7 separate regions of the Homo sapiens genome follow, and all the other regions are linked to region 1. Evidence: promoter capture Hi-C in 16 types of primary human blood cells and fetal thymus (Javierre and others, 2016). All regions are on one chromosome and are shown on one strand. Each heading gives the region's core, a stretch centred on a gene start or on the middle of the fragment in contact. The rest is flanking DNA. Distances are from core to core; before and after follow the strand shown. Region 1 holds the start of NSUN6 (NOP2/Sun RNA methyltransferase 6). Region 2 overlaps RSU1 (Ras suppressor protein 1). Region 3 overlaps CUBN (cubilin). Region 4 overlaps RSU1 (Ras suppressor protein 1). Region 5 overlaps CUBN (cubilin). Region 6 overlaps PLXDC2 (plexin domain containing 2). Region 7 overlaps CUBN (cubilin).

Region 1 (2,931 bases), core at 12-2,511:
GTGGCTCACGCCTGTAATCCCAGCACTTTGGGAGGCTAGAGAGTCAGATCAGTTGAAGTCAGGAGTTTGAGACCAGCCTGGCCAGCATGGTGAAACCCCGTCTCTATTAAAATTACAAAGATTAGCTGGGCCTGGTGGCACATGCCTGTAATTTTAGCTACTCGGGAGGCCAAGGCAGGAGAATCTCTTGAACCAGGAGGTGGAGGTTGCAGTGAGTCGAGATCCCACCATTCCACTCCAGTCTGGGCGACAGAGACTCAAAAAAAAAAAAAAAAAAAGAGCAGAGAAAATGATAAACAACTTGCAGGTTGTTGTGTGGTATAATGGTCATTCATTATTTTCTACTCTTTCTGGTAAAGAGTTGGTGTGTCATGGAAAGTACCTGTTCTATGTGTGTGTGTCTGTGTGTATAATTCGGTGTGAAAATTAAAGAGAAAAAAACAATAAAAAACCCTTTCCTATACTTATGTGTAAATTACCATGGTGTGCTGCAAAAAACATATGTCAAGGTGATAGAATTATTTTGACTTTCCTGTACAGTTATAAAATGACTCAGTGAGTTTGGTTAGATATCCTCGTTCTTTGAATCTATATCCTTGTCTGCTTATGATGAAAAAAAAGAAAAAAAAATAATGGCGAGGGTCTTCCAAACTCTAAAGAATATGTCAACTATGATACAAGTAGCAGTTAGCCTTATAACTAACTGTAAACACTGTCTGTGGGTTTTAAGTTTTACCTGAGCATTGGATATTAACAGACCATTAGCCCAACTTTCAAAAATATGAACCCTATGAACTTCACAACTGAAGTCAGATCTGTATGCCTGAGAGAGGTAAAATCATGTCATGAAATCAAACGGTGGCTGATGCGCCCAAATTCTGGCCTCATCCTCTAACTGGAGGACATCTGGCAGGACAGCAACTGGGCTGTGCCTTTTTTCAGTCCAGCAACATCTTCCACTCAACCCACGCCATTTGGCTGTTTCCCCATTGCCCCTGGCACCTAGCCCTCCGGTACCGGGAACTAAATATCTTTGACCATCCCGCCCGCGGGGTCTGCCTACTTAACCTGAGGCAGGTGAAAGAGCCTCACGCAGGGTTAGGAACCTCCGGGGGCGTGGCGTAGCGTAACGCAGTGTTGGGGAAACTTGCGGCTGTGGATTGGGGGACCGGAAAGGGAGGGGTGGGCCGCAGGCGCCGGACGTGACGTAAGCCGGAAGCGACTTTCCGCCGAGAAATAGGGGGCGCGTGTTTGGAAATTGATAGAAAAGATAAAGGGACCGAGCTGCTGTCAGCCTGGCTTACTGATCTGCGTCCGTTTCACCACGGATTCAGTTACTAAGCATTTTTTTCTTTTTTTGGTTCTTTGCAACGTGAGTGGCATTGGCTCAGTGATTTCCATGAGCATCTCTACCAGAAAACATTGCCTCGATGAGGTGTGGTGGAAGCCCGGCAGCCCCTTCTAATCGGCTAGGCTTGAGAAAGCGTGTACCTCTGCATTTCCGAAATTAACTCAGCGTGATCGGCAAGATTTTCCTCAGCATCTGGTGTCAAGACACTCGTCACTATTAATTCGGAAAGAAAAAAAAAAACAAAACACCGTTTTCCAGCATTTCTCTTGGTGGAGAACTAAACAACAGGAAAAATGTCTATTTTCCCTAAGATATCTTTGAGACCTGAGGTTGAAAACTATCTTAAGGAAGGCTTTATGAATAAGGAGGTAGGTCAAGTAAAGATGTTAGTTGATATTTTGCAAAAACTCAAATATTCGCACACTCGAGAGAAATAGAAATAAGTATAAAGGGAAATCTTGACAGCCGTCGTTCCTTACTACTTGTCTATCAAGTGTAAAAATACCAATATGTTTCTACAGGTATTAAAGCTTACTGAGATACGAAGTGAATAAGGTATATGTTTTAACATTTAGGAGTGGAAAAGAAGGGAAAAAAGGCATGTGCCTGTCAGGCATGGCACAAAGGGTTACAAGGATGAACAAGAAAAGGTCCCTGTCTTCAAGAACTCGAATCGAATTTTAAAAGAGCGCTGGCTCTGGCACTCAGGTGAAAAGGTTTCTGTAATTTGTTGAGTGCCTCTTAAATGCCAGCAGTTGTGCTAGGAGATTTGCATCTTTAATCTTCACAATCTTTTTTTTCTTAGAGGTTTTTCCTCTTTTAATAGACTTGAGCAGAAAACTGCTCAAGGAATTGTGTAACTGATCCAAGTTGACACAGCTATCAAGTAACTATTGAAATCTGGAGGGAAAGAGTTCAGGTGTAATGAACAAAGGTACAGCTTTTGAATCTCAGGCACATGATTTGCATTCTAGTGCTTTGTAAATTACGTGGCTTAACCTAGATTTTTCTCTTCTGTGAAAAATTGAGAATGGTTAAAAATATCTTGCCAGGTTGTTTTAGGATATTAAACGTAAGTGAATACAACTAGCATTGTTTTGGCATGTAAGTCCTCAAAAAATGTTAATTTTATTTGCTAAAGTCCTCAGTAAATGTTGATTATCTTTGATTGCAAAGCCTGTTGTCTATTCCATTTTACCATGCTGCCTCTAAGCAACTTTGTTTTTTTTCAAATCTTTAATTTTTTAGTCAAGTTAAAAATATTTTACCAGGTTGTTTTAGGATATTAAACGTAAATGAAAACAACTTGCATTGTTTTGGCATGTAAGTCTTCAAAAAATGTTAATTTTGTTTGCAATTGGCAGTGCCTGCCACAGAAGTCCTCAGTAAATGTTGATTGTCTTTTATTGCAAAGCCTGTCCTCTCTACCACTTTACCATGTTGCCTCTAAGCAACTTTGTTTTTTTTGAAATCTTTAGTTTTCTTAGTTAGAGTAACACCACTTAAATGTTACTCATTTTTGAATATGTTATTGAAGCCATGCCTTTTAGATTTGATTTCTACGTTTCATTTCCAAAGAT
Region 2 (2,700 bases), core at 168-2,667, 1.9 Mb after region 1:
TTTGGCTAGGCAGAAAATGATACTCAATTCTCTGTCAGAAGCGAAGTTCTACATGACTAAGCTTCCTAATTGAGAGCCCCATTTGTTGAATTATTTAAAGCCATATCATTGATTTTCATAATCCATCTCCTTTTAGAATCCTAGAATGTTAAAATGAGGTGGAAGAGACCTTGGAAATGGTCATAATCCAGCCTTCTTATTTTACAGAGGCCCAGAGAGGTTATGAGTTGAGTGAGGGCACACACAGCACTGTAGGGTCAGGGACCACGTTGCTCTTTAGTTCCTTTGGTGTCATAGGTCAGCTGGGGTCATAGATCAGAAGCTGGACAGATTGATGAAAAAGGATCGTTTCAAAGATGTAAGAAATATACTGATGTGCACTGTTAGCTTTTAAAATGCTTCTTGCTCATGCATCCTGTAGATATCTAGAAAATTCCAGTAGAATATTTTGACTGGTAAAATATTGCAGTGGCCTTTTTGGAATACCTAAAATTGTTCCCGCCACGTATGTATAGGATTTAGTCATAGCACAATTCATATTGCTAACTGGTTATTTTTTTCAGAGAGTTTGGTTGGGAGTAGTTTATTTTCCAAGCACTAGGCCTGTTTCAGTTGATTGACTTTGATACCCTGTCTTTTGTAACTTACTTTCTTTAAATAACATGCCTCTCCTATTTTATCTCCCAGGTATTGAGATGCTGTGTGTGCAAAGTATGGCACTGTGCACCTAATCAGCATTCTCTAAATATTGGTTCAAAGAGTGAATACCATCCCATCCAGAAGGGTCTGCATGTTAATTTCTTTAGATTTTCACTATGGCTGGGGGTTAAAAAAAAATTCCGTATATTGAGGGAGACTATTAGCTGTGTATTATTTTTTTTTCCTCGTCTAGCTTGAATGGAGTCTTAAACGAAAAATTCACATGCTCACCAAAAGGCTGGGAGAGGTTTTGTAAATTGAATATGGGGTTATTGTTTGCGTTCACAAAACAAAGCCCTAAATCACATTTAGCATAATTTGTGGTTTTAAATTGGACTGATTTAGCAAGGAGAGTGAAATAATCTCTCATCCTGTCAAAAAGGCGATACCTTTAGACCAGCATTTAATTGCACTGGCAGAGTAACTTCGGGAAGACGGCAGTAATTCTGGCTGCATTATTCTTGGTTTGTGGCTAAATTGAGATCATCATTTTCTCCTGGTTTCACTAACTTTCCTTATTGCTCTTCAAACTAATCAGATGAATGTGCTCTTCAAACTAATCAGATGAAGGCTTAGTGGTAGCTGGAGGGTGGACAGGGGAGGGATGAGGTCTGTGGGCAGCTGTAATGTATATACTTTATGATCTGGGGGGAGAAGATGACATCCAGTGACCCAGAAGGCACAGCCTGGTGATTTTCTTTTCTTTTTTTTTTTTTTTGGACATAGAGTTTCACTCTTGTCACCCGGGCTGGAGTGTAATGGCTTGATCTCGGCTCACTGCAACCTCTGCTTCCCAGAAGCGATTCTCCTGCCTCAGCTTCCCGAGTAGCTGGAACTACAGGCATGCGCCACCATGCCCAGCTAATTATTTATTTATTTATTTATTTTTTGTAGAGATGGGGTTTCACCACGTCGGCCAGGCTGGTCTCAAACTCCTGACCTCAGGTGATTCACCTGCCTCAGCCTCCCAAAGTGCTGGGATCACAGGAGTGAGCTACCACACCAGGCCAATCTTTTCTCTTCTCGAGATAGAGTTGTACTCTTGTCACCTAGGCTGGAGTGTAATGGCATGATCTTGGCTTACTGCAACCTCTGCCTCCCAGGTTCAAGCGATTCTCCTGCCTCAGCTTCCCGAGTAGCTGGGATTACAGGCGTCTGCCACCATGCCCAGCTAATTTTTGTATTTTTAGTAGAGTCAGAGTTGCACCGTGTTGGTCAGGCTAGTCTTGAACTCCTGACCTCAGATAGTCCACCCACCTCGGCCTCCTAAAGTGCTGGGTTACAGGTGTGAGCCACCGCTCCCGGCCCTGGTGATTTTCTTGGTAATCCCTTACACACAGTGAATACCATTCATTTACACAGAAGTGTTCCATGGACTGTGCACCTAAGAAAGAATGTACATTTGCAGCCACACTGTACAGGTAGGGTTCATTTGCATTCCTGCAGGTATCCCAGAGGGAGGGTTCTGGAGGAACTTTGAGCTGTCTAGATTACCCGATGAAAACTTGTTCTTTTATCAACGGCCACTTCCGGAGCTCGCGCAGGGGCCGCTCACTAGACCACTGCTCCCTGCCCGTGTGCCCCAGTTCAGAGTAATCTGTATTCTTCACAGTCCCTTCTTCCAGTGAAAGCATCTCTTTTACCTTTCACCAAGCCTTACCTCTAAAAGGCCAGTGATACCTTAGACATTTCAGAAAGCTCAAAATGATGACTCAAAACTATAATAAGCAACGTGCCTGTCCCTTTACTTTTGTTCCCCTGGGAGTTATCAATTGGTCGTCTTGAAATGGCTAGCTGCTTAAATATTTTAGATGTATGTTTGGCATTTTACACACACCTTTGTGGTGGTTCTAATCACAGGTGCTCCCGGGTCTGAGTTTAGGTCTGACTGCAGGAAGCAGGTTGGTCTCCCAGCCTCCTGGGGCACCCCTGGAGGAAGCAGATGGGATGGGAAGTAAACCTGACTGATAAGAGACATCACACTTTCTCAGGCTGAGTTCC
Region 3 (2,700 bases), core at 13-2,512, 1.6 Mb after region 1:
GACCATTTGCCCGTGCAAACATGGGGAATCAACCTGAAGAGTTCTGGCTGTATTTTACAACTTGATTTCAGTCTTCCATTTTTATTTTGAGTCTGAGTCTCCATGCAGAAAAGGAGATTTCAAACGAGTGATTGAATATAGAAATGGAAATGATAGATTTGGGAGAAATCAACATGGAGATGTATAGGAAGCCCAGGGTATTTGTTAAGTCAACAGGGAGCATGTGTGTAGTGAGAAGAGGAAGTAGGAACACTAAGAGGTGATTGTGGCTGGGCACGGTGGCTCAGGCCTATAATCTCAGCTACTCAGGAGGCTGAGGCAGGAGAATCACTAGAACCCGGGAGGCGGAGTTTGCAGTGAGCTGGGATCGCACCATTGCATTCCAGCCTGGGTGACGAAGTGAGACCCTGTCTAAAAAAAAAAAAAAAGGTGACTGTGTCATGGGAGCCAAGGGAAGAGCAGTCGAGAGAGGTTGTGGTTCAGAAGGGTCCCTTGGAGATCAATGTGACTCTGGTCAGAGCAGTGTTTGTGGGGCGAGAGCAGGAACCAGACAGTGTAAAGAGGTACAAAGAGGAGAGTGAGTGTAGACTGAAGTCTAGGTCCCTGAATTCTGAGGCTCTCTGTAACAAACCAGAGTAAGTGATGGCTTCTTTTCTCCAATCCTTATCCTTCATTTCCCTAACTGGTCCTCATCTAGTTCACGTGTGTGGGACACACTCCTTTGCATGTTCTCTTGTATGTCAGTGCCTCTTTAAATGTGGCCCCAGAATTGGATGCAACAGTTCAACTAAACCTGGCTAGGCCCAAGTAGGTTGGAACCGTATTATCCAGTTCATATATTTCTGGTGGTCTATGCTGAAGTTAAATGGGGTTTATTGTAGCTAAGTCATGATATTGGCCTATATCAAGATTTATAATCTCCATATCACTTTTACATGAATTATTATGAATTTATGATTATATGATTTTTAAGAATCTAAACAGAGATATTTTTCCTAATAAATCAGATTTGATTTTGTCTGAGAATCCCAACACATCATGACCTCCCTAAATCTTCATTCATTGCTTTTCAGAGCATTATTCATTTGCATACAGACTCATTGGCCACTGACCTAGTACTTCTTCAAAAATAATTGATAAAAATGTCAAACAAGATTGCATCTATTTCAAATACTCTTAAATGATAAGTTCTTTTGGTTAAAATTGATCTATTATTAAGTGCTTTTGGAATAGCACTATTCAAACTACTAGGTAATAAAAGCTAATATTTATTCAGCATGTATTATTTGCCAGGTAATTCTCACAGCAACCCTGTATTATAAGAAATATTATCCCCATTCGTTAGGTGAGAAAAGTGAGGCAGATATAGGTTGTTCATATTCAGAAAGATTATAAGTGTCAAGGCCGGCTTTCTAGCAGGCACTGTAACTCCACACCGATGCTCTCAGCCATAACACCACATACCCCGGGAGCACTCTCACAGTGTCCTGTCACCCTCACAGGGATCATGGGGAAGTGTTCCTGCTGCCCCCAAGTCTACCATTCTATTGACACTGCCGCAAAGAGAAATCAATGTTTTGCATGACTCCATAGATAAGCAGGTGCCATTTATTATAATCACCTCTTTCTTTGCTTCATGTTGACAAATTATTTTTAGTGTCTAATTTAGAATTTTTCCAAAAATTACTGTTAATCTTACTGATCTACGAGATTCTAGAATGAATCTTTCCCCATCTTGGAAGCTGGAACGTTTTCCCTTCAGCCCCCTGGCAGCCCTGCTGGTTCTCCTTGTCTGGGCTCGCACTCTTGGTGGTGGCACCGAAACACAATCTGAGCCACATGAAGAGGACAGGCGCATGTGACAGGCTGGTTACTTTGAGAAGGCTCACACCTCCCCACACACAGGAGAGGCTGAGAAGCCTGGAGAAGGTGGGAAGCCAAGAGAGTGAGGCAGATTCTCCACTCCCACTTCCTAAGGCTCTGCTCCTGCTCCCTGACTGTTCCCATCCATTCCCATCCCTCTCCCCAAAGGCTTCCTCTGAGTTTCAGCAACCTCGGAATTTTAGCTTCAACAACATGACCACCCCAGCCTTGACCCTACAGGATCATTTACCTCAAGTGCTTGCATACAACCAGACTTTCCCTTGGTGACAAATCCCCAGCACAGGGAGCTCATGTGTTTGAGCTCGACAGCAAATGCATGGGTCTAGCCTGCCTATGGACGATACTCATTAGGGCAGTGTAGCCAAGCCCTCTAGCCGGTGATGTTCACAGATTATGTTCTGGGCAGAAGCAGAACTTGTGAGCAGGGGCATAGATTCCGCTGGAATGCTAAAACTTTTTTTTTTTAATTTAACTTTCAAGTTCAGGGTATGTGCACTACCCTGATAGTAGTACACATACCCTGAACTTATTTATTATGTAGGTAAACTTGTGTCATGGGTGTTTGTTGCACAGATCATTTCATCACCTAGGTATTAAGCCTAGTTCTCATTATTTTTTTGGATCCTCTCCCTCCTCCCACCCTCCACCCTCAGGTAGGCCCCAGTGCCTGCTGTTTCCCTGTCCTGTGTCCATGTGTTCTCAGCACTTAGCTCCCACATATAAGTGAGAACATGCAGTACTTGGTTTTCTGTTTCCTGCATTAGTTTGCTGAGGAAAATGGCCTCCAGCTCCATTCACATTCTTGCAAAGGACCTG
Region 4 (2,700 bases), core at 124-2,623, 1.9 Mb after region 1:
ATTTCTATTTTCTTAAGTTTAAGGGGTGTTTTATGGCCCAGAATGTGGTCTATGTCTATGAATGTTCTGTGCAAGCTTCAGAAGAATGTGCATTTTTCTGTTAGATGGAGTAGTCTATAGATGTCAATTATATCCAGCTGATAGATGGTGGTGTTGTGTTTTTAACTCTGTCCTTACTGATTTTCTGCCTGCTGGATCTGTCAATTACTGATAGAGTGGAGTCTTGACGTCTCCAAGTATAATAGCGGATTTGTTTCTTTCTCTTTGCATTTCTATAAGTTTTTGTCTAACATATTTTGACGCTGTTGTTAGATACATTCACATTAAGGATTGCTGTGTCTTTCTTGGAAAGTTTACCATTTAATCGTCATGTAATACCCTTTTTTATTTCTGATAATCTTCCTTGCTTTGAAGTCAGCTTTGTCTGAAATTAACATGACTACTGCAGCTTTTTTTGTTTAGCGTTTAGCGTCATATCTCTTTCTCCATCCCGTTACTTTTAATTTAGTTGTATCTATATTTTATATTTAAAGTGGATTTCTCATAGATAACATATAGTTAGATCCTGTTTTTTTTTTTAAAAAAAAGATCCACACTGATAGTCTTATAATTGATATGTTTGGTTATTAACATCTAATGTGATAATTGATATTACTTAGATTAATACCTACAAAATAAGTGTTTTCTATTCTTGCCCTTGTTCTTTTTTTTTTTGTCTTCTGCTCTTTTTCTGCTTTCCGTGGCTTTAATTGAGCATTTAATATGATTTCATTTTCTCTTCTCACAACATATTCCGTTTTCTCTTTTCTCAGCAAATGTACATTTAAAAATTTATTTTTTAGAAGGAGGATAAAGCAAGGAATAAAAACTTCTTAATGATAGCCCTAGAGTTTGCAATATACATTTACAATTAATCTTAACTCACTTTTAAATAACACTGTGCCACTTCAGAGCCAGTGCAGGTAACTTAAAATCAGACATTTCCAGTTCCTTCTTGTTGTTCTTTATAGAATCGGTATCATTCATTTCAGTTATCTGTAAACTATAATCAACCAACATGCCTGTTACGCCTTTTGTAATTATCCCATTGTTCTTAGATATTTTGTCTTACTTTTCTCCTACTCTTCTTTCTCTTTGCTTTTCAGTTTAGGAAGTTTCTGTTGACATGTCTTCAAGATCACTGATTCTTTCCTTGACTGTATCCATTCTACTAATGAGCCAGTCAGAGGCGCTCTTTATTTTTGTTACAGTGTTTGTGAACTCTAGCATTTCCTTTCAATTCTCTCAGGGATTTTGTCTCTGCTGACATTACCCATCTTTTCTTGCATGTTGTCTACTTTTTCCATTAGAGCTCTTAGCATATCAATCATATTAATTTTAAAGTCGCAGTCAGATAACTGTAAAATATCTGCCATATCCGAGTGTGCTTCTTTTGCTTGATTTCTCTCCTCAGCCTTTCTTCTTTTTAGAGTACCTTGTAATTTTGTTGTAAGCCAGACATGATGCATTGGGTAAAAGGAACTGAGGTAAATAGGCTTTTAGTGCGAGTTCTCACATTTTTGTAGCTTTGGGTGTCAGAGGGTAAAATTTTCTCTTGTGTCTTCCTTGTGTTTTCCTCCCCTTTTCTCTTAGATTTTCCCTGTTGAATCCTTAAATACTGTGTGAGCCTTGAACTTCTGCCGTAATTCCGTATTATTTTATAGGACCCCTTCTGATGAGAAGGCATCGGGAAAAGGGAAACGTTCTGTAATCCTGTGCTTAGATCTCTCTAGTGAGCCTGTGCCACTTGGCTGTGACCTTCACAGCTGTTTCTCAACTTCCCCGCATCCCCTCCCCGCCCCCGGCTACCAAATTGAGACAGGAAGGTGTGAGCGGGCTGGAGTTGGGTATTTCCATCAGTTCCTGTTGGTCAGGCTCTGGTAAATCCCAGGTAGCCTAGGCTCTGCTAAATCATTTCTCTGTTTGTTAAGGAGAGCAGAATGCTTTGGGCTTCTTTCACAGTGGTTGCTCTTCTCCCCTTCCATGAAGCACAGAGGGATTTTTTTTTCTAATTTTTTCACCCTTAGAACCTGGTAGGGCTCTTAGAGGTAAAACTCAGCAAAGTACAGGAGACCCCTTAAGACCGGGCCCCCAGGAACTTGTTGTTGTTTTTGTTGTTGTTGTTGTTGTTTTTAATCTCTCAAATTAGTTTACCACTCAGTCTCTGGCAATTCGGCAGTTACCCTTGAGGCATTCCTACCGGTTGCTGGCTCCAGCAGGTATTTCTGCTCCTACTATGCTGTGATTCTCTGTGTTTGCCTGTCTCTAGATTTCGGTATGGTGGTTTGCCCTGTGACCTGAGTTTTCTAATGAATCTATGGAAGAGTTGTTTGTTTTCTGTTTGCTCAGCTTTCTTCTTACTGTGAGTATGGTAGTGACAACGTCCAGAATCTCTATTTGCTAACCAGAAACCCGATACATCTCTAATCTGGTATTAATTTTGGAAATACGGCTCCCTGCTTTTTAGAATTTGAACTGTATCTAGATTTTCAGCACATATAGCCATTTCCTATGATACAGTCTCTCCTTTAGCCCTCACGTAGTCTTAGTTCTACAGGCACCCCTATCTTTTATGCGCATTAGGAGTCCTTAGGACAATGTATCTCTAGTTATTTTGATTGTCTGAAGCTTATACTCTGGAATATTCCTCAGAAAGGCATC
Region 5 (2,700 bases), core at 5-2,504, 1.7 Mb after region 1:
CATGGATGAGCCTGAAGGACTTTATGTTCATGGAAATAAGCCAGGCACAGAAAGATAAATATTGCATGATGTCACTCATTTGTGGAGTGTAAAAATGCTGATCTCGCACAAGTACAGGGTAGAATAGTGGTTACCAGAGGCTGGGGACGGTAGCAGGGAGGAAATTATGGGGAGATATTTGTCAAAGGGTATACAATTACAGTTAGGTAAGAGGAATAAGTTCTGATGTTCTATAACACAGTAGGGCACCCACAGTAAACAATATTCTGGTTTATAAATATTATAGTGTGTTAAAAGTAACTAGAAGAGAGGATTCTTAATGGTCTCACCACAAATAAATGATAAATGTTTGAATTGATGGACATGCTGAATACCATGATTTGATAATTACACAATGTATATGTGTATTGAAACATCACACTATCCCTCATACATGTGTTCAATTATTATGCATCACTTAAAACCAAAATAAAAAATAAATATAAACTGTATATATTCATAAAATTGAATCTTAAACTTTTATAAAAATGAAAAAATGCTATTCTAAACAAATAAATGAATAAATTATCTTGAGAGAAGTAAATAGTCTGTGCCTTAAGATTCAATTGGTGTATTCTCCATACTCTGTAACCACAGATGTTCTAAGAAGGTATTCATTATCCTTTGATATTAAAACTAAGACAGTATTAATAGAATATTACTACAAGCTTAGGACACTGTATCTATAACCTTAGGACAGCATAAAACCAAGTATAGAGATAATAAAGACTTGAATTAAACCAATGGTGGTGATATTTGAGAGTAGACTCAAGTATGAATGTAGTAAGAGGTTTTGTAGTGATGGTTTAAATGTCATTTTGTCTACTGTTTACAGTGTTCAACGTGTTCAAAGGAAGGATTCATACTAGATTGGAAATTATAATTTGAATTGGTTAGAAAAATGGAATTTAGTTTTTAATCAATCTTTGTTGAATGAAAATCAGTCATCAGGTTTCATTTATTGGAGATATATATATATATATTTAAATTTTGAACATTAAATAATAAAAAAGAAAAGATTTGCTGCTCCAGAACAGACCCACATTTGTTTTAAACTTATTATTGTAAGAGCTTTAGCTCCTCAGAAAGTTAAAAATCCTATTGATATTTGATTCATGGGCTTGTATAAGCCAAACTGAGAATATCCTGCCAATCATACCTGTGGCTAAAGAGAACATGCAGAATCATACCTGTGTGCTAAACAGAACACTGATTATAATCATCACCAGATTTTTAAAGTCACTTGCGAGTAACTTCCTTACATTGAATCTCCGAACTTTCTATTTTTTTCCCCAAGATTTTCTTATGAAATATAAATGGCAATTTGTTTTTAATGAAATGGCCATATTTTACCTTCATACTTTCAGTCACATTCTAATGGTTGGCAGGTTGATGCATGCGTCCTGCTCAGTTGATACCTTGCAGTGAACAAGAGGAAAGGGTTTCAATTCTGGACTCTGGAATCTAGTGGTCTGATTCAACGTGACCTGCTCCCTCTTAGGAATTGTGTGACTTGGGCCCATTACTTAGGCTCTCTGTGCCTCTGTTGTCCTGTTCTTAAAAACAGAAAGAAATTTGGGAGGATAAAATGGGACAGTGTACGTGAAGGGCTGAATCCAGTTCCTGGCACATAGTAAGCACTAATGAATGGGAGTTATTATTAATCATCCAAGCAAAGGAACTCATTTCCCCCCTGATTTACACATAAGAGTATTCAAAAATTCATCCAGACACTGAGTTCCAAGCAAATTAGTAAGCTTCAAATTTTACAAATCAATACAGAGATTTCAGGTATATGTGACATAGATTCCATTTCATTACATGCCTGGAGGGTCAGCTAGGTCCCAGCATGGCACTAGGCAAGACAGAGACCAACAGTTAAAAAGAGAGAGGTAATTTTCTTTTCCTTTTTTTTTTTTTTTTTTTTTTTTTTTTGAGACAGAATCTCGCTCTCTGTTGCCCAGGCTGGAGTGCAGTGGTGGGATCTCAGCTCACTGCAACCTCCGCCTCCCAGGTTCAAGCAATTCTCCTGCCTCAGCCTCCTGAGTAGCTTTGACTACAGGTGCACACCACCACACCTGGCTAATTTGTGTATTTTTTATTAGAGACGGGGGTCTCGCCATGTTGGCCAGGCTGGTCTTGAACTCCTGACCTCAGGTGATCCACCCGCCTCAGCCTCCCAAAGTGCTGGGATTGTAGATGTGAGCCACCATGCACGGGCAAAAAGAGAGAGAGGTAGTTTTCTAAATCAGCCTTATATCACCCCTATCGTTTGAAAAGAATTCTGCCATTTCTCTTCTCTTGAGCATTACCCTATCACGAAACTTATGAAGAACAAACAGGTCCAACAAATGTTGGGATTCTGACAACAAATGCTCATCACTCATCATTATTTCTCGTCTGTTTTCTCATGTGTCTATTCTTGCATTACACATTTCCAGCACATGTTGTGGGCATGGCCTGTGAGGTGACTACACTGGGGTTGGGAAGGAAGGGGAGTGTGGAAGGGACGGCATTTATGAAGATATCAAGAAATCTAATAGTGGCTCTGACAGAGGAAGTCCTGCTGAAATTCACGTCAGCATCCCTAGAAATGACCAAAGACTTGTTACAGCTGTGAGAAAGGACAATAAAGCCAGTTTCCCTAGATCCAGCAAACGT
Region 6 (2,852 bases), core at 97-2,596, 1.6 Mb before region 1:
CTGTCAATGAACAGGACCTAGTATTCCGTAAACAGGATCTAATAATGTTCAGTAAACACCCTACGTTTAAGGTAAAATCCTAGGCTCAGATTGCTTTTGGCAGTAACGGCAGACTAAGGAACTAAATAGCCCTCCTATAACAAAACAAGTAGATTCTGAATAAAACTTGAATTTTAAAGCCTTAGGATTTGCAGGAGGTAAAGAATATCCCAATGGTGCCTTTCCATTGTTTATTCCCCTCCCCACTCAAAAAATAAAACAAAGCAAAAGCTATGTGCTATAAAGACAGTAGGAGCTGTATACATTAAGGGAAGTTAAAAAAGCAGAATTTGCCCTGAGGAAAAAAATCCAAAATCAATATCGCTCTAAAGAGAACAAGCCTTGCAGCAGTAGTAGACAGGGGAGAAAAATCTGAACTTCTCCTCCTCACATTAGGGCAGAGACTTATGGTAGCCTGAAAATCCTGAGGATCCCATCATCAAATCTTCTTTGGGGGAAAACATCACCTATTTAGGTCTTAGAATAGGATCAGACAAATATACACTAAAAAAGAAAAAAAAATAGCTGTCTGAGAAAGAATCAGCAAAAACAATGACCACACTATTTAGATCACCAAAATTTTAGATAATGGGATCATCCAATATGGAATATACAAAAATCATACACGGAATATTTAAAATCATAAAAGATAAAATTGAGAAATGAACGGTTCACATGAAACTATAAAATACTTGGCAGATGTAATAAGTGTCAAATTTAATTTTAGATATGAAAAATGTTTGTTGGAATTTCTACTTCAGTGAGTAGATTACATAGAATATTAAACAAGATGAAGGGAGAGTTAATAAACCGGTAAATACATCTGAAGAAATTGCTCCAAATACAGCACAGAGTAATAAGGAAAGAGATTACATATAATAGAGGTTTAAAAATATGAGGAAAAGATGAAAATGGCAAGCTTTCAAAGAAGTCAGAAGGTGAAAATAAAGAGAGTGGAGAAGTATAGCTGAAGAGTACATTTATCAAGCTTGACACCCAACCAACAGGAAAACACACATTTTTCTTGAACACACATAGACCCTTTGTACAAAATGCCCATGTACTTGTTCATGAAAAATTTCCAATCAACTTTAAAGATCATAACATGTTCTCTGATGATGACTCAATTAGTCTAGAAGTCAATAGTAAAAAAGGTAAATTTTAAAAGCCTCTGTAATTAGGAAATGTGATCTAATTCATAATTTAATGTATTTCCAATAAAATGTTAGTAAGATGTATTGATAGATGGATTACAGATCTCGACAAGGTGAGTTTAATATTTATATGAAGGACAAAAGCCCTAAAATACCCAAACACTTGTGAAGAAGAAAAAGTAAGGAGATTTGTCCTGTATATAGTAAGATTTCTTATAAAACAATAGAAATTAATACAGTGGGACACTGATCTAAGTACTGACAGAGCTTTAGAAGAGGAGAGCCCAGAAAATATACATAAAACAGGTGACTTTGCAAGATATTGCCAAAAGAAAGGATTAGTTAACAAATGGTGCTTGAAATTTGGCTATCCATCAAGAAAAAAAACCCCACGAAACTGAATCTCTACCTTATATAATACATAAAAACCAATTCCAAATGGAATAGATTTTGACGTGTAAGACAAAGCTTTAAAATATTCAGAAAAAAATACACAAAAATAACACCTAGATGGAATTTGGTAGGAAAATTCTTCTAAAAGAAGATGCACAGGCATATAAAACTCATCATAAAAATAAAAGATTCATACATTTGACAGATTAAATTGATAATTAATGTTAGTGAAATAAAATCATAGAGAAAATGAAAAGATAAACCAAATTTGGGAGAAAAAATATACATCTGAATTACATTCTCAATCTTTACATATATGGAGATATTCATTTTCAACATTTTATATTGAGGTAACTGATTATATGAAAGAAATGATTGTCTCAAAACACAACTATGGCTTTGTCAATAGATACTCTTTGGAACTACGTTATTAGATAAGTGAGGTGAGACGGATGAGCACACACTGCTGTCATTCCCTAAATGAAATGCCAAAAGGTTGGTTATAGCTACACTGGCAATACTGCATTTAAAGTTCAAGAATGTTTTTAAAAATGTATTGCTCAAGATCTTTATGAAACATGCCCCCCAAAAATGAATTTTTAAAAAGTCTCTAAGTAACCATTGAACAAATAGTTTTTAAAACAGCATTTTGGCATGGCTTGCTTTGCTAAACTTTTGTAATTGTTAGCAGTTTTAATTCAAAATTGATACCCCAAAACTTAATGAAGGGAGAAGAAGTAAATGCTTTTCTTCATAAACTTTATAGGATATCTTTATATGATCTTGAAATGATAGTATAAATGCGAGTCACTGCAAAGCTTTTAAACGGGTTAAAATTGTTTCTGGTATCCAATTGCTTACACGACTTCACTGCATCCTTGTCTCTATCATGTTTCCCTCAGAGTTAACATTATACCATCTCTCTATGCCAACTAATGTTATACAATTTCTCATTTATTACAGCACATCAATTTGCTGCAGTCTTCCACCCTCCACAATACCACTGGTCTTGCTGTTTGAATTACAAAGAGGAACAATGGTTTCGTACATCCTAGAAAAATAGCAAGCATTTAAGAGAACTCCTCTACAGATTCCAATCCTGGCCCTACTATTCCCTAGCCATTTACCTGACTCTCCAAGAACCCACACTTCACCCCTCCCCACAAGCTCCCCTCACTCCTCCCCTTTCTCTCCTTGGTAATATGGGGGTAGTGACAGTGCAGGCACTGTTCTTCATAGAATGAATATGACAATGAAATGAGATAA
Region 7 (2,802 bases), core at 78-2,577, 1.6 Mb after region 1:
TCCAAAACTGCTGAGGCCTAGACCCTCCTCACTGCTGAGAAAGGAGGACTTTGCACCTTCTTTGGGAAAGAGTGTTGCTTTTACACTAACCAGTCAGGGATAGTACGAGATGCCACGCAGCATTTACAGGAAAAAGCTTCTGATATCAGACAATGCCTTTCAAACTCTTATACCAACCTCTGGAGTTGGGCAATATGGCTTCTCCCCTTTCTAGGTCCCATGGCAGCCATCTTGCTATTACTTGCCTTCGGGCCCTGTATTTTTAACCTCCTTGTCAAATTTGTTTCCTCTAGAATCAAGGCCATCAGGCTACAGATGGTCTTACAAATGGAACCCCAAATGAGCTCAACTAACAACTTCTATCAAGGACCCCTGGACCGACCCACTGGCCCTTTCATTAGCCTAAAGAGTTCCCCTCTGGAGGACACTACAACTTCAGGGCCCCTTCTTTGCCCCTATCCAGCGGGAAGTAGCTAGAGTGGTCATCACCCAATTCCCAGCAGCAGTTGGGGTGTCCTGTTTAGAGGGGGGATTAAGAGGTGAAGCCAGCTGAGCTTCTGGGTCAGGTGGGGACTTGGAGAACTTTTCTGTCTAGCTAAAGGTTTGTAAATGCACCAATCAGCGCTCTGTGTCTAGCTAAAGGTTTGTAAATGCACCAATCAGCACTTTGTAAAAACACACCAATCTGCGCTCTGTGTCTAACTAAAGGTTTGTAAACGCACCGATCAGCACTCTGTAAAAATGGACCAATCTGCGCTCTGTAAAATGGACCAATCAGTGCTCTGTAAAATGGACCAATCAGCAGGACGTGGGCAGGGCCAAATAAGGGAATAAAAGCTGGCCACCCGAGCTAGCAGCGGCAACCTGCTCGGGTCCCCTTCCACGCTGTGGAAGCTTTGTTCTCTCACTCTTCACAATAAATCTTGCTGCTGCTCACTCTGGGTTCACACTACCTTTATGAGCTGTAACACTCACTGTGAAGGTTTGCGGCTTCATTCCTGAAGTCAGCAAGACCACGAACCCACCGGGAGGAACAAATAACTCCGCACTACCTTTAAGGGCCGTAACACTCATGGTGAAGGTCTGCAGCTTCACTCCTAAAGTCAGCGAGACCACGAACCCACTGGAAGGACGAAACTGCGGACACATCTGAACATCTGAACAAACTCTGGACACACCATCTTTAAGAACTGTAACACTCACTGTGAGGGTCCGTGGCTTCATTCTTGAAATCAGCGAGACCAAGAACCCACCAGAAGGAATAAATTCCAGACACACTACTGTCTTAGAGTGATCTAGCCCTGGAACATGTAGTGCTTGTGGGTCTCATAGCAGTAGTTCTCAACCATGATGCTAGAGCTCATTGGTGTATTTCAATCAACTGGAAAGAGAAGTGGAGTTCCAAGATTATACCAGGAACCAAGCATAGACATCTAAGCTGTGGCCCTGCTGTCAAAATCAGGGCTGAGCTCTAGCTGAGCACACATGAATGTGTGCAGTGGTTGACTCTTAACATTGTTCACATTCTGGTGCACTCATTATAGGAATGTCAGAGCTACTTATAACTGAATAGCCCTATTATACACTTAGGAGTGCTAGGCGTTCTGAGATTATAAACTGGGCTCTGAGTGTATGTCTGTTAAAATATGTATGGGGCTTTCAGTATTTAAAAATAGTCAGTGGTCATCCACAGAGCTACTTGCAGCTTGAAACGTACATTAGGAATTCCCAAAGTAAATGAGTTGTGATAACTAAGCTTGTAGAAGTTCTGGACCTTCCTCTTCATCAAGTGAGTAGATATTTATATATTTATTTATTTATTTATCAAGATAGGATCTTGCTCTGTCATCCAAACTGGAGTGCAGTGTCCTGGTCATAGCTCACTGGAGCCTTGAGCTCTGAGGCTTAAGTGATTCTCTCACTTCAGCCTCTTGAGTAGCTGAGACTACAGGTGTGTACCACTGCACCTGGCATTTTTTTTTTTTTAGTAGAGTTGAGGTCTTGCTATGTTGCCCAGTCTGATCTTGAACTTCTGAGCTCAAGCAGTCCTCCTGCCTTGGCCTCCCAAAGTGATGGGATTACAGGTGTGAGCCACTGCACCTGGCCCAAGTGGGTAGATTCAACCTAAGTCAACTCATGGATCCGTTAAATGCAGGGATTGGATTGATTCATCTCTATAATACAGATGATCTGTAGTATTCCGTGATTCTGAAACACATGATTCTAACTAGAGACAGTGTGAAAAGAGACAGAAAGGTCAGGAGAATCCTGGGAAATGGCCCAGAATTTCAAGGGCTGGGGCATTCTCCAGAGCATACGTGCTACCCAGATGCTCCTGTGCACATGAACCCTGGGGATCTTGTTGGATAGAGGATGGGGTCTGGGGCAAGGCCCGTGAATCTGCATTTCTAACAAGCTCCCGGGTAATGCTGCTGGTGCTGCTCTATGGACCGCTCTGAGGAACAAGGTGAGAGCAAGTGTTGAGACTGGAGAAATGAGATGGTAGAAAGACAGTATCCCTAGAGACTGGAGAATCCTTCTGAGATGTTGAAAGGGCACATTGTACTGTTTGTTTTAATGACAGTAGGATAATAGCAAGATCTAAAGCAGAGAGAACTTTCCCCCAGGGACAGAAGTGTAGAAGGTAAGAAATGTTAACCAGGAAGCCTGGGCTCAGGGCCCTGGAGAGTGTTCTCAGTCCTAGATGCACCATTGGAATTGCCTGGGAGTTTTAAAAAGTGCCCATGCCTGGGTTCCAATATCCAGAGACAGGATTCAGTTGGTCTGCAGTGGGGCCCTGAC

Evidence for each region. Contacts are between HindIII fragments. The CHiCAGO score rates a contact against its expected background, and 5 or more counts as called.
Region 2: a fragment that was not itself captured here is called in contact with the fragment with the promoter of NSUN6 in region 1 in 1 of 17 cell types (activated CD4 T cells); the score reaches 6.2 in activated CD4 T cells.
Region 3: a fragment that was not itself captured here is called in contact with the fragment with the promoter of NSUN6 in region 1 in 1 of 17 cell types (non-activated CD4 T cells); the score reaches 10.9 in non-activated CD4 T cells.
Region 4: a contact is called between a fragment that was not itself captured here and the fragment with the promoter of NSUN6 in region 1, in 3 of 17 cell types (activated CD4 T cells, total CD8 T cells and non-activated CD4 T cells). The highest score is 5.7, in activated CD4 T cells.
Region 5: a contact is called between a fragment that was not itself captured here and the fragment with the promoter of NSUN6 in region 1, in 1 of 17 cell types (activated CD4 T cells). The highest score is 5.4, in activated CD4 T cells.
Region 6: a contact is called between a fragment that was not itself captured here and the fragment with the promoter of NSUN6 in region 1, in 1 of 17 cell types (M0 macrophages). The highest score is 5.5, in M0 macrophages.
Region 7: a contact is called between a fragment that was not itself captured here and the fragment with the promoter of NSUN6 in region 1, in 1 of 17 cell types (non-activated CD4 T cells). The highest score is 9.2, in non-activated CD4 T cells.

Annotation. Positions count from the first base shown.
Region 1 is chr10:18,649,917-18,652,847 of GRCh38, reverse strand. It overlaps NSUN6 (NOP2/Sun RNA methyltransferase 6), which reads left to right and starts at 1,261. Exons shown (of 11, transcript NM_182543.5): 1 at 1,261-1,719. The coding sequence starts at 1,645. RefSeq lists an enhancer at 1,022-1,121. The HindIII fragment of the contact is 3,002 bases long and covers 1-1,883 here.
Region 2 is chr10:16,765,740-16,768,439 of GRCh38, reverse strand. All of the region lies in intron 3 of RSU1 (Ras suppressor protein 1), which reads left to right. Among named protein-coding and RNA genes, the nearest start is that of RSU1, 50 kb to the left of the region's middle. The HindIII fragment of the contact is 2,708 bases long and covers 64-2,700 here.
Region 3 is chr10:17,035,671-17,038,370 of GRCh38, reverse strand. The region is part of intron 27 of CUBN (cubilin); the gene reads left to right. Among named protein-coding and RNA genes, the nearest start is that of CUBN, 93 kb to the left of the region's middle. The HindIII fragment of the contact is 5,094 bases long and covers 1-2,700 here.
Region 4 is chr10:16,798,977-16,801,676 of GRCh38, reverse strand. All of the region lies in intron 2 of RSU1 (Ras suppressor protein 1), which reads left to right. Among named protein-coding and RNA genes, the nearest start is that of RSU1, 17 kb to the left of the region's middle. The HindIII fragment of the contact is 2,592 bases long and covers 78-2,669 here.
Region 5 is chr10:16,954,649-16,957,348 of GRCh38, reverse strand. The region is part of intron 31 of CUBN (cubilin); the gene reads left to right. Among named protein-coding and RNA genes, the nearest start is that of RSU1, 140 kb to the right of the region's middle. The HindIII fragment of the contact is 1,089 bases long and covers 710-1,798 here.
Region 6 is chr10:20,211,993-20,214,844 of GRCh38, reverse strand. All of the region lies in intron 10 of PLXDC2 (plexin domain containing 2), which reads right to left. Among named protein-coding and RNA genes, the nearest start is that of MIR4675, 340 kb to the left of the region's middle. The HindIII fragment of the contact is 634 bases long and covers 1,030-1,663 here.
Region 7 is chr10:17,009,663-17,012,464 of GRCh38, reverse strand. All of the region lies in intron 28 of CUBN (cubilin), which reads left to right. Among named protein-coding and RNA genes, the nearest start is that of CUBN, 120 kb to the left of the region's middle. The HindIII fragment of the contact is 862 bases long and covers 897-1,758 here.